Linked DNA regions of Homo sapiens: region 2 is linked to region 1. Evidence: promoter capture Hi-C in 16 types of primary human blood cells and fetal thymus (Javierre and others, 2016). All regions are on one chromosome and are shown on one strand. Each heading gives the region's core, a stretch centred on a gene start or on the middle of the fragment in contact. The rest is flanking DNA. Distances are from core to core; before and after follow the strand shown. Region 1 holds the start of VCPKMT (valosin containing protein lysine methyltransferase). Region 2 overlaps NEMF (nuclear export mediator factor).

The links. Contacts are between HindIII fragments. The CHiCAGO score rates a contact against its expected background, and 5 or more counts as called.
Region 2: a contact is called between a fragment that was not itself captured here and the fragment with the promoter of VCPKMT in region 1, in 16 of 17 cell types (naive CD4 T cells, naive CD8 T cells, non-activated CD4 T cells and 13 more). The highest score is 27.0, in naive CD4 T cells.

Annotation. Positions count from the first base shown.
Region 1 is chr14:50,113,513-50,119,701 of GRCh38, forward strand. It overlaps VCPKMT (valosin containing protein lysine methyltransferase), which reads right to left and starts at 3,060. Exons shown (of 6, transcript NM_024558.3): 1 at 2,775-3,060; 2 at 2,557-2,667; 3 at 2,327-2,399; 4 at 773-892. The coding sequence starts at 3,040. SOS2 (SOS Ras/Rho guanine nucleotide exchange factor 2) reads right to left here. Exons shown (of 23, transcript NM_006939.4): 23 at 3,618-5,341. The coding sequence ends at 4,832. RefSeq lists an enhancer at 2,997-3,056. The HindIII fragment of the contact is 15,614 bases long and covers 1-3,799 here.
Region 2 is chr14:49,843,228-49,849,416 of GRCh38, forward strand. It overlaps NEMF (nuclear export mediator factor), which reads right to left. Exons shown (of 33, transcript NM_004713.6): 4 at 2,913-3,038. Among named protein-coding and RNA genes, the nearest start is that of NEMF, 6.5 kb to the right of the region's middle. The HindIII fragment of the contact is 733 bases long and covers 2,379-3,111 here.

The DNA.
Region 1 (6,189 bases), core at 1,810-4,309:
CTAGGGGAAGAAGAGTGACAGATACATAAAACCCTATATACTATATTTTGCAACTTCCTGTAAGTCTTTTCTAACTATTTCAGACAAAAAGTTTAAAAAACAAAAAAAAAGACCCTAAAAATAGACAGGTATCTAGGTTGGAGGTTTCATAAATATGTAGAGAAAAACACAGAAGTAAAAACTTATCACTTGGCAACATGGGAAAACCCCATCTCTACAAAAAAATACAAAAAGTTAGCCGGGTGTGGTGGTACATGCCTATAGTCCCACTTACTTGGGGGCGGGGGGGGGGGGGGGTGACACTGAGGCAGGAGGATCACTTGAGCCCAGGAGGTTGAGGATGCAGTGAGCCCTGACTGTGCCACTGCACTCCGGCATGGGCTACAGGGTGAAACCCTGTCTCAAAACAAAAACAACTTATCACCTGCACATTTCTATCACGTATTCTCCAAAGGTAATACATACATCATTGAGATGTTCCCCAAAGGCAGCATCATGTTTAATAAACACTGAAAACTGTTCTTAAAAAGGAGTGGCACCCGTATTAACATTCTTCTGTAGCCATAGATCAACTAATTAGAAATGAAATAAAGTATCAGAAAAGATGAAAAAGGGGAGCTTCGTAGAATCATGGGCTGTGAAGATCCTTTCCTCAGCTTCACACAAACAGCATGTTTTCCCCACCCAAAATTACCATAATATACTTGAAGAGTCACATACAGCCCCCCTGAAGGGAAATCACTACAAAGATAATAGAGTACTTAATACTTACCTCAAAATATTTTTTCTCAATTTCTGGATTTTTCCCCATTGTTCGTTGTTCATAACAACATATAATACAAGTTTCAAATCCGCTGATATCTTTTAGAGTTTTCAGCAATGGCTCCAAAGACTATTTAAAAAAGAATATATTTTTTGTTTTTGATTTAAAAATTTTTCTACTCTAAAAGTAGGTTGAGGAGGTACAGGGGTATTTATAGCTCCCCTACAATTTATCCATCTTTGAATCAATCCAACAAAGCACATGTAATTAAAGCTCTAGGCTAGGTGCAGTGGCTCACACCTGTAATATCAACACTTTGGAAGGCAGAGGTGGAAAGATCGCTTGAAAGCAGGAGTTGAAGACCAGCCTGGAGAATACAGCGAGAGACAAACCACCCCCCGCAACACCTTACAAAAAATTTAAAAATTAGCCAGCATGCTGGTGCACACCTATAGTCCCAGCTATTGAGGAGGCTGAATGGGAGGATTACTTGAGCCTCAGGAGCTCGAGGTTACAGTGAGCTATGATCACTCCACTGCACTACAACATGTGTGACAGAGCAAGACCCCTATCTTAAAACAAAAACAAACAAACAAAAACCCCTCTGTAACTAATGATTGGGTAAGCTCCTGTTAACTAAACCATGTACTGATTTTGGTTTCCAGAAAAAGGATTCAGATGACTGCATTTTGGAGTTCTCATGGGAAACAAATGGAATCAACCTTACTCTTAAAAGTTTAATTTTATTTAATCTAATTTGGGATTTAAATAATCAACGATTTCCCTACAAAAGTTAAATCTGACCCTAACTTGGTTCAATGCTAATTATTTTTAAAATAATCGATGCCCACAACACTATACAAACTGATGTTTTTTTTTTTTTTTTTTTTTTTTGAGACAGAGTTTTGCTCTTGTTGCCCAGGCTGGAATGCAATGGCATGATTTCGGCTCACTGCAACCTCCGCCTCCCAGGTTCAAGCGATTCTCCTGCCTCAGACTCCCAAATAGCTAGGATTACAGACATGCACCACCACGCCTGGCTAATTTTGTATTTTTAGTAGAGACAGGGTTTTGCCATGTAGGTCAGGCTGGTCTCGAACTCCCGACCTCAGGTGAGCCACCTGCCTTGACCTCCCAAGTGTTGGGATTACAGGCGTGAGCCACCGCGCCCGGCCCAAACTGGTATTTAAAGAAAAGAACAATGAATTATTTATAACTTAATTCTCAATGTCATGGTTAACATGTTCCGTGGGAACAACCAAGGGAAAAAGAGAGGATTTTGGCTTTTCATAACATCCAATTGGCAAAATCCTTTAAAATTTTTACAGAAGCCTCTAGTAAAATGCATATAACACTTTTCTCAACATGCTTCACCAGGTCGGTATGATAATGATGAGCGTATATACATATGGTCCCTGGTGACTTTTATCTTCTCTTTACTGCATCAACTATAAGGCAAATCCCGGATTCAAAGATGTTAAAATGTGAAGAAACGTGTGCTTTAGAATTCATGGAATAAGGTTCATCTTCTAAGTGAAGAGACTTCGCTCACTGGATACTTACCTCTTCATAGTATATGCAGTCGGCCATCAGTATGAAGTCGGGTGGAGAAGGAAAGCCTTCTATTTCTTCCCCCCTTAAAAATGCCAAACAAATATTTCAATTGTTTTAATAATTCAAAATACTCTTGTTTTATAAAGAACCGGAAAGTCCCCTTCCATCCTTTTAATGAAACGCAATTCAAAACAAACTACAAATCAATATCTTAAAACAAGCTGAAAGGCCATACAAACCATTTCAGTACCTTGGCTTGAACAGAACCAGTGACAAGATGCTTGTTCATATTAATATTCATCTTCAGCAAGTCTTGCAATTCCTCAAGATCGGTGACTACAACATCAGCCCTATAAAATAACGTCGACTGAGGTGTAGGCACAGGGGGGAAAGCCTGTAATCCGGATTTCCCCAGCAAGAAGGCGCCCCCACATCCCGCCCGCCCGCCAGCTCTTACCCGAGGGTAGCAGCCATGAGCCCCACGGCCCCGGTGCCCGAACCCAGCTCCAGCACCGACCGCCGGCTCAGCGCGTGGGCCCCGTCGCCAGAAAACTCGGGCGTTTCCAGGTATTTAGAAAGGACAATGGCAGCGTCCCACACAACGCAACCCACGCCACCGGAGCTATACTGCTGTAGTCGTAGCACTGTACCATCCCGCTTCTCCAAAACTCGCACAAAGCTCCGCAGTGGGTCCTCCAGCGAGGACTCCAGCGTATCCGCCATTGCGCCCGGCAACAGAAAGCGGCGCGCGCAGGGACGTCACATCAACGCGCACCGCCCCGCCCTGCGGCTCCGCCCCCTGCCCGCCGCTGAGTTGGCGACGCAGCGCGCGCGAGTTAACAAAGCCCGGAAGGCAGCGTTACCTGGGCGGGGCCGAGCGTGGGGCCCCTGCTTACCCGACGCGCTTGGCAGCCTCCCTCTACCCTAAATCACACGTTTGGCTTAACGAAGAGGCCGTTTAAATCACTTTCCCAGACAAAACTATTATAATCTGCTCTTTAAAAAACAAAGCCAACCTCAGAGTTTACCAAGTTGGACACTTGATTTACATAGTAGTTACAAGGCTTAAATGCAATCAGCTTCCAAGATCCTACCAAAGATGGCTATAATCTTACAATCTTCCTTTTCAAGTTCCTAGTATGCTCCTAGTTTTTTGTATGAATTCATAAAAGTGGTTGCTAGAAGCCTGCAGCTCACATTTAACAGTGAAGAAAAAATTGTGTGTGTGTGTGTGTGTGTCTATAGGACTCAACAATCTCCCCCTTTGTTCCTTATAATGAAAACACATATTTTAAAAGTCTTTTAAAAATTAAGACTGGGGTGATTTATTAATCTTGTTAAGAACTCTGATACAAAGCACAGTAAAAGGCCACAAACCAGTAAATAAACAACGTGGCTTTTGGCTACTTTACAACTGCTGCTACAGCACTATCAGCAAAACACTCTATCACTTTGAACGAAGGCATCCAAATGGCAAATAAAAGCTTTACTCACTTATCTGATTAAAATGTTTAATAAAGCTTTAAGTATTTGCTGGTTTAAATATTACCAATCTAAAAAATATATTTAAAAAAAATTTCAGTTAACACGAGATTTATAGAGAAAGTTACTAGGTCTTGAAGGCAAGGCAGTTGGTTCCTATGCCATAGAATTTTTTTTGAATTTATGAATTAGTAAAGTAGCAGATTGTATTATAGGCCTCAAGTCACTTAAATTTATATAGGTTATTAGCAGTATCTTTAAATATACAATATAAACAAAACTGTACATACATGGCATATTAACTGTTTTCCATAACAATAGGCAATTCATTAGCTAAAGACGTCATAGTCTGCAAAAACAAAAGGCACATCTGAATGAGATACATGCCCTTTTTCCCTCCATCATTGGGTTATGTAGTCTTTGTTTACATTTTGACAAAATAATAAACACTTACAGTGCCATTCTATTATTTTCATCCTACTTTTCATTTTTGTCTTCAGCAGCAAATACCGGCATTTAAGACATGGCATTAAAGAGTTTAAGAACAGTTGGTGTTATTCACAATTCTCCTAGATGTAAAAACTAGAAGTAAAAACTAGAAGATGGTCAAAGAGGTTTAAAAATCAGTAACACCATATACCCCTCCCATATTTGTGTAAATTCACTGCCTTAAAAAGGCATCTATTACTCAAATTTGAAAAATTTCACAAAAGCACTATCCCTTTTCAGTGCAATCATGTCACTTTAAACCATATTTTTGCAGAGTTTACAGTGCAAATATAAATTCTTTATACTGGCCTTTTGGCAGCACTGAGGATCCAAGACAAGGCAATGCTACTGATCACCTGAGGATAATGGTGAAGGACTTTTGTATTTTTATTTTTCCAATTCTTAAAAGCTTATTTGATCAGTAGCATTTTTGTAAGAGCATTATTTGTAAAAAGTACTAAAATACTATGTCTTTTTTTGAATAAATTAAAAAAAAAACTTTACAAATACCATTCCAGTGTCAATGACTACATATGGCTAAGGTCATTGGGGAGTTTCTGCATTTTCTAGCAAAGGCAGTCTGTACAATGGGGGGTGCGAAAGCTCCCGTTTGTAAGTCTTTGGTGGCAGTTTTGGCAGATGAGGGCTTGAATTCTGCCTTGGTGGAACAGGGGGAGCTGGAGGATGAGCAAGATTATTCTGACTAGAACTGAGCACATAGCATCGACGCGGTACCCTTGGAGAGGGTGTGCTAGGAGGAGTGCTTGGCGAATTTGGACACGTACTAATGTCTCTGAGCCAGTCTGAATCTCTGTGAAGATGCCCCAGTGGAGGTGGCTGAAGATTAAATGGACAGTTTATAAAGTGTTCTGGAGGCCGAAGGGGAACTGGTGGAGGGGTATCAGGAAGAGGATCTCTTGGTGGTGGCGGAGGTGGACTATGCAGAGGCCCATCAAATGCACCAGTAGGAACAGGAACTCTGGGTTTTACCTTTGGAGGAGGAGGCTGTCTCGGTGGAATAGCAGGAGGATCATCATCAGATTTCATATTTCCCTCAAAAAAAAAAGTAATTAAATTATACCTCTATTCTGAAAAATTAAAAAAAAAAATTTTTAAGTCTGAAAAATTCTTACTTGTCAAGTTAAATTCAGAGGCTCAAAATAAACTAATCTGGGTTAATTATCAGATTATGAGTACTCCTAGATTAATTCAGGGCTGGGTTTAATATTTTTATATATGAGATGTTTTAATTTAAGTCTTAGGTCCTAACTCTTTATCTTGCTTTGTGTATACATTTCAGAAATTTATGTATTTTAATTATAATAGTAGGTAAGTGACAATAATTTATTGCTTTATAGACATGAAAGGACATGATGTCTAGAGGACTTTAATGTCTAGCTTCTGCTTACTGGGCATCTACTGCTACTTTCTCCAGTGAGGCTTAGAGCAGTAGATCTCAAAGTGTGATCCAGAGACCAACAACATCAGCATCAGTAGGGAACTTGTTAGAAAAGCAAATTCTTGGGCCCCATCCTAGACTACTGAATCAGAAACTCTGGAGGTGTGGCTCCACAGTCTGATTTTACCAAGCCTTTCAGGTAATTCTGATGCACCCTTAAAATTTTGAGAAGCATTAGTTGAAAGTTTGAAGAATACTTGGAATACTACTGAAGTTTTTTTCCACCTGTACCAGAAAGAAAATGTACTTCCAGCCTCTTTTTTATTTTTTTATTTTTATTTTTAGTTTTTGAGACAGAGTCTTGCTCTGTCGCCCAGGCTGGAGTGCAATGGTGCGATCTTGGCTCACTGCAACCTACCTTCACCTCCCAGGTTCAAGTGATTCTCCTGCCTTAGCCTCTTGAGTAGCTGGGATTACAGGTGCCCGCCACCATGCCCGGCTA
Region 2 (6,189 bases), core at 1,495-3,994, 270 kb before region 1:
CTCACCCCCGTAATCCCAACACCTTAGGAGGTTGAGATGGGAAGATTGCTTGAGCCAGGGGTCCAAGGTCAGCCTGGGCAACGAAGTGAGAGTCTGTCTCTACAAAAAATAAAAAAATTGGCCAGGCATGGTGGTGCACATCTGTGGTACCAGCTACATGAAAGGCTAAGGCAAGAGGGTCACTTGAGCCCAGGAGGCCGAGTTTGCAGTAAGCCCTGATCATGCCACTGAATTCCAGCCTGGCCAACAGAGCAAGACTCTATCTCAAAAAAATAAAAAATATTGCATAAAAGAAGGCAGACCCAATGTCATGCATTGCTTAACAATGGGGATACATTCTAAGAAATGCATTTAGGCAACTTCGATGTCGTGTGAACGTAATAGAGTATACTTACACAAACCTAGACGGTGTAGCCTAATACATCCACCAAAGATATGATATAACCTATTGCTCCTAGGCTAGGAATCTGTATAGCATGTTACTGAATACTGTAGTCAACTGTAATACAATAGCAAGTATTTGTGTATCTAAGTACATCTAAATATAGAAAAAGTACAGTAAAAATATGGTATTACAACAACAGTTCCAGGCCGGGCGCAGTGGCTCATGCCTGTGATCCCAGCATTTTGGGAGGCCAAGGCGAGCAGATCACCTGAGGTCAGGAGTTTGAGAACAGTCTGGCCAATATGGTGAAACCCCATCTCTACTAAAAATACAAAAATTAGCTGGGCATGGTAGTACATGCCAGTAATACCAGCTACTCAGGAGGCTGAGGCACTAGGATTGCTTGAACCCGGGAGGCAGAGGTTGCAGTGAGCTGAGATCACACCCTTGCACTGCAGCCTGGGCAACAAAGTGAGACTCTGTATCAAAAAAAAAAAACCAAAACAAAACAAAAAAAAAACCGCAGTCCCCAGCCTTTGGCACCAGGGACCAGTTTCATGGAAGACAATTTTTCCATGGATGGGGGGTGCAGGGGTATGGTTTCCGGATGAAACTGTTCCACCTCAGATCATCAGGCATTAGATTCTCGCAAGAAGCATGCAACCTAGATCCCTTGCATGCACAGTTCACAATAGGGTTCACGCTCCTATAAGAATCTAATGCCACCACTGATCTGACAGGAGGCAGAGCTCAGGTGAGTAATGCTCACTCGCATACTGCTCACCTCCTGCCGTGTGGCCTGGTTCCACAGACCAGTTCCAGTCTGCGGCACAGGGGTTGAAGATCCCTGGTATAAAAGATTAAAAATGGAACACCTGTATAGGGCACTTACCATGAATGGAGCATGCAGGACTGAAAACTGCTCTGGGTGAGTGACAGTGAGTAAATGTGAAGGCCTGGGACATTACTGCATACTACTGTAGACTTGATAAATACTGCACACTTGGGCTACACTAAATTTGTTTTTTATTTTTTAATTTTTAAAAAAATTATGCTTACCTCAGACCAGATTAAATTTATGTATTTATTTATTTATATACATACACACGCACGCGCACGCGCGCGCACACACACACACACACACACACACACATATATTTTTTTTTTCCTTTTTGAGACTGAATCTCACTCTGTCACCTGAGCTGGAGTACAATGGCATGATCTCAGCTCACTGCAACCACTGCCTCCCAGGTTCAAGTGATTCTCCTGCCTCAGCCTCCCGAGTAGCTGGGACTACAGGCACGCACCACCACACCAGGCTAATTTTTGTATTTTTAGTAGAGATGCAGTTTTGCCACATTGGGCAGGCTGGTCTCAAACTCCTGACCTCAGGTGATCCACTCGCCTTGGCCTCCCAAAGTGCTGGGATTACAGGTGTGAGCCACCACACCTGGCCCAGATTAAGTTAGTTAGTTAGTTAGTTAGTTAGTTTATTTTTGAGACAAAGTCTTGCTCCGTTGCCCAGGCTGGAGCACAGTGACACAATCTGAGCTCACTGGAACCTCTGCCTCCCAGGTTCAAGTGATTCTCCTGCCTCAGCCTCCCGAGTAGCTGGGATTATAGGTGCCCGCCACCACGCCCAGCTAATTTTTGTATTTTTTAATAGAGACGGGGTTTTGCCATGTTGGCCAGGCTGGTCTTGAACTCCTGACCCCAGGTGATCTGACCCCAGGTGATCCGCCCTCCTCGGCCTCCCAAAATGCTAGGATTACAGGTGTGAGCCACTGTGCCCGGCCTGAGTCATTGCGCTCAGCCAAATTTATTTTTAAGATGTTTTTCTTTCTTCAATAATAAATTAACCTTTGCTTCCTGGAACTTTTTTACTTTATAAACTTTAAACTTTTTAGCTTTTTGACTCTTGTAATAACACTTAGCTTAAAACACATATCGTACAGCTGTACAATACTTTCTTTCTTTAGATCCATATTCTCTAAGCTTTTTTTCCATTTTAAATTGTTTTGTTTTTACTTTTAATGTTTTTGTTAAAAACTAACACACAAACTCACACACCAGCCTAGGCCTACACAGAGTCAGGATCAAGATGTCACTAAGCAGTAAGAATTTATTAGATCCATTACAATGTTACAGGACCAACGTTTATATGCAGTCTGTTGTTGACTGAAACATCACTATACATACAGCGCATCAGTGCATGACCGTATTTGACTATTTTCTGGTTGCATATTAGTCCTGAAATGTCAAGTACCAAATAATTTACTTCTCAGATCTTCATCTCCTACATTCATAAGGCTATTCTAAATGGCTAAAGTCTGCCTAAACTCAGACCTACAGATAAAATGAAGGTTATTACTGGAAAATTTTATTTTATTTGTGTGGCACCCATTTCCTAGGGTAGTAACAACCTTTGACACAGAAAAAAAATGTTCCCCCACTCATGTTATATAGCACTATTACAAAATGATTAATAAGAAATTTTCCTTCACCATATCCCACAAATTTAACTTACCCTATCATAGAGCTCAATGATTAAATGGTAAGCAGCTTCATCACTTCCAAATTGAAAATCTACAATTCTATCCACACCAAGCTGTTTTGCACTGACTAATCTCCGACTCTTCAAATGTTTTCGGCACTAGCAAGAGAAAGAAAAAGGCATTCATTTAGTAAAAGTGAATTCCTAACCATTTGGTATTGGTTTATAAATAAGCTTCTTTTCATTATCATCAGGAATATTTAAAACGTTGTGAATAACAGTATAGTCATAAAGTAATAGATTGCAGATGATAATCAGAGGGAAAACATTTTATTATAAACACTAACTCTGAAACAGTGTTTTATTTGCATTTTTTTAAGACAGGGTCTCACTCTGTCACCCAAACTGGAGCCCAGTGGTGTGATCATGGCTCGCTGCAGCCTCGACTTCCCTGGCTCAGGTGATCCTCCTGCATCAGCCTCCTGAGGATTGGGACCACAGGCACATGCCACTATCCCCAGCTAATTTTTTCATTATTTGTAGAGACAGGGTCTCACTATGTTGCCCAGGCTAATCTCAAACTCCTGGGCACAAGCAATCCTCCTGCCTTGGCCTCCCAAAGTGCTGGGATTACAAGCGTAAGCTACTGAGCCAGGCTTTTATTTTCAATTTTTAAGTAGAGAATGATGGACCTATAGCAAAATTTGCTTTGTTGCTTTATACCACTGCTAAATTCCTTGTTGTGGTCCTAATGACCTCACTCATAAGCCACAACCTTTATTTATTTACTTTATTTTGAGAGAGAGTCTCGCTCTGTCGCCCAGACTGGAATGCAGTGGCACAGTCTCAGCTCACTGCAACCTCCGCCTCCCAGGTTCAAGTGATTCTCCTGCCTCAGCCTCCTGAGTAGCTGAAATTACAGGCGTGTGCCACCACACCCGGCTAATTTTTCTATTTTTAGTAGAGACGGGGTTTCACCATGTTGGTCAGGCTGGTCTCGAAGTTCTGACCTCGTGATCCGCCCACCTCAGCCTCCCAAAGTGCTGGGATTACAGGCATGAGCCACTGTGCCCAGCCAACCTTTACTTATTTATTTATTTATTTATTTATTTGGAGACGGAGTCTCACTTTGTCACCCAGGCTGGAGTACAGTAGCACAATCTTGGCTCACTGCAACTTCTGCCTCCCAGGTTCAAGCAATCCTCCTGCCTCACCCTCCCAAGAGTAGCTGGGACTACAGGCGCCCACTACCACGCCTGGCTAATTTTTTGTATTTTAGTAGAGACGGGGTTTCTCCACGTTGCCCAGGCTGGTCTCGAACTCCTGAGCTCAGGCAATCTGCCCACCTCGGCCTCCCAAAGTGTTAGGATTACAGGCGTGAGCCACCACACCCAGTCCCTTTATTTTTTTTAAGTCTCTTTGATGACACTTCTAAGTATGCCAAATTTCCCTTTTGTATGCTTCATTTATGTTCAAAATTAATTAATTGTTTCCACTAATCTTCTACTTCTAATACATATCAACTATGGACCATGAGCTTATGGCTTATGGTATCCTGTAAATAGTCCACCACCTTATATCCAGTTACCCCTACCAATTCTTTTTTTTTTTTTTTTTTTTTTTTTTTTCTTTAAGAGAGTCTTTGCCAGGAGCGGTGGCTCAGGCCTGTAATCCCAACACTTTGGGAGGCCGAGGTAGGTGGATCACTTGAGGTCAGGAGTTCAAGACCAGCCTGGCCAATATGGTGAAACCCCATCTCTACTAAAAATACAAAAATTAGCTGGGCGTGCTGGCGCATGCCTGTAATCCCAGCTACTCAGGAGGCTGAGGCAAAAGAATCGCTTGAACCCAAGAGGCGGAGGTTACAGTGAGCCGAGATGACACTACTGCAATCCAGCCTGGGCAACAGAGCAAGACTCTGTCTCAAAAAAAAAAAAAAAAAAGAAAGGGACAGAGTCTCTCTGTTGCCCAGGCAAGGCTCAAACTCCTGGACTCAAGCAATCTCCCACCTTAGCCTCCCAAGTAGCTAGGATTACAAGTGCCCTGCCACTGTGCCCAGCTTATTCCTACAAACTTTACTAATATAACCCAAAGAGAATTTTCCTGGTATCGTCTCTAAGCTTTTGATAACCTATTTCAATCCAATGTAATAACTCTCATTCTTTATTAAATCCCCTTCCTCCTATCCCTGGCCATAAGGTTCTTTTTCTTATTAACAATTAAAATAATATTAGTATATCAAATCCAAATACAATTTACTTGGCAATACCTACTCTTTTAGATTACATGTACCGTCTTTTTGTACAAATATTGAAGTATGACATGGACTGGTAACAAGACTACTCTGTAGCCTCTAAAATATCTTACAATTGTTTCTAATTTTTTAATATAAAAGACCCTTTAGTTAAGACCAATAAGAAAGAATGCTTTCTTCAAGACTCAAATACGGTCTGGGTATGGCAGCTCACGCCTGTAATCCCAGCACTCTGGGAGGCCGAGGCAGGCGGATCACAACGTCAGGAGTTCAAGACCAGCCTGGCCAACATGGTGAAACCCCATCTCTACTAAAAATACAAAAATTAGCCAGGCATGGTGGCGTGTGCCTGTAATCCCAGCTACTTGGGAGGCTGAGACACGAGAATCACTTGAACCCAGGAGACTGAAGTTGCAGTGAGCCAAGACTGCGCCACTGCCCTCCAGCCTGGTGACAGAGCAAGACTCCGTCTCAAAAAAAAAAAAAAAAAAAAAGACTTAAATACGAAACAAATTTTACAGAAGTTAATCTAAGACCACCTTCAAAAAAAAGACAAAAAATCCACTCCTTGACAAAGGTTGAAAAAAAACAACAATAAACACATAAATTCATTATTAAAATTAATGCTAACATTTTCATAACTAAGAAGAGTTCTTCTCCAGACCTTATAGCCCAAATTGACTGAAATTCGCATTTTATATACTCACATAGGCAGAATAACTTCCTAGGATAAACAATCTGCTCCTCCTTAACTCAGTAGTTTTAAGAATGACCTATACTGATTTGATTAAACAGTAACCTACATGTAGGGCTATCTTTAAATCCCTAGAGGAAAATCACAATCAGTTCTTCCAGAGTCCCTGAGTAATAATTTTATTCAAGAAAAATAAAGACAAAAGGCATCATTGAAAGGACAGAAGTTCACACAAAGGAATAGTAAAAAGGGGATTATTTATCATGGAGAGTACAGATGGACACATAGTACATATTTAAAGCTTGTTTCATTTCCCTATCAACAGCTTGGTGAAATCAACCTGCTGCTGTGTGCCACAAAGC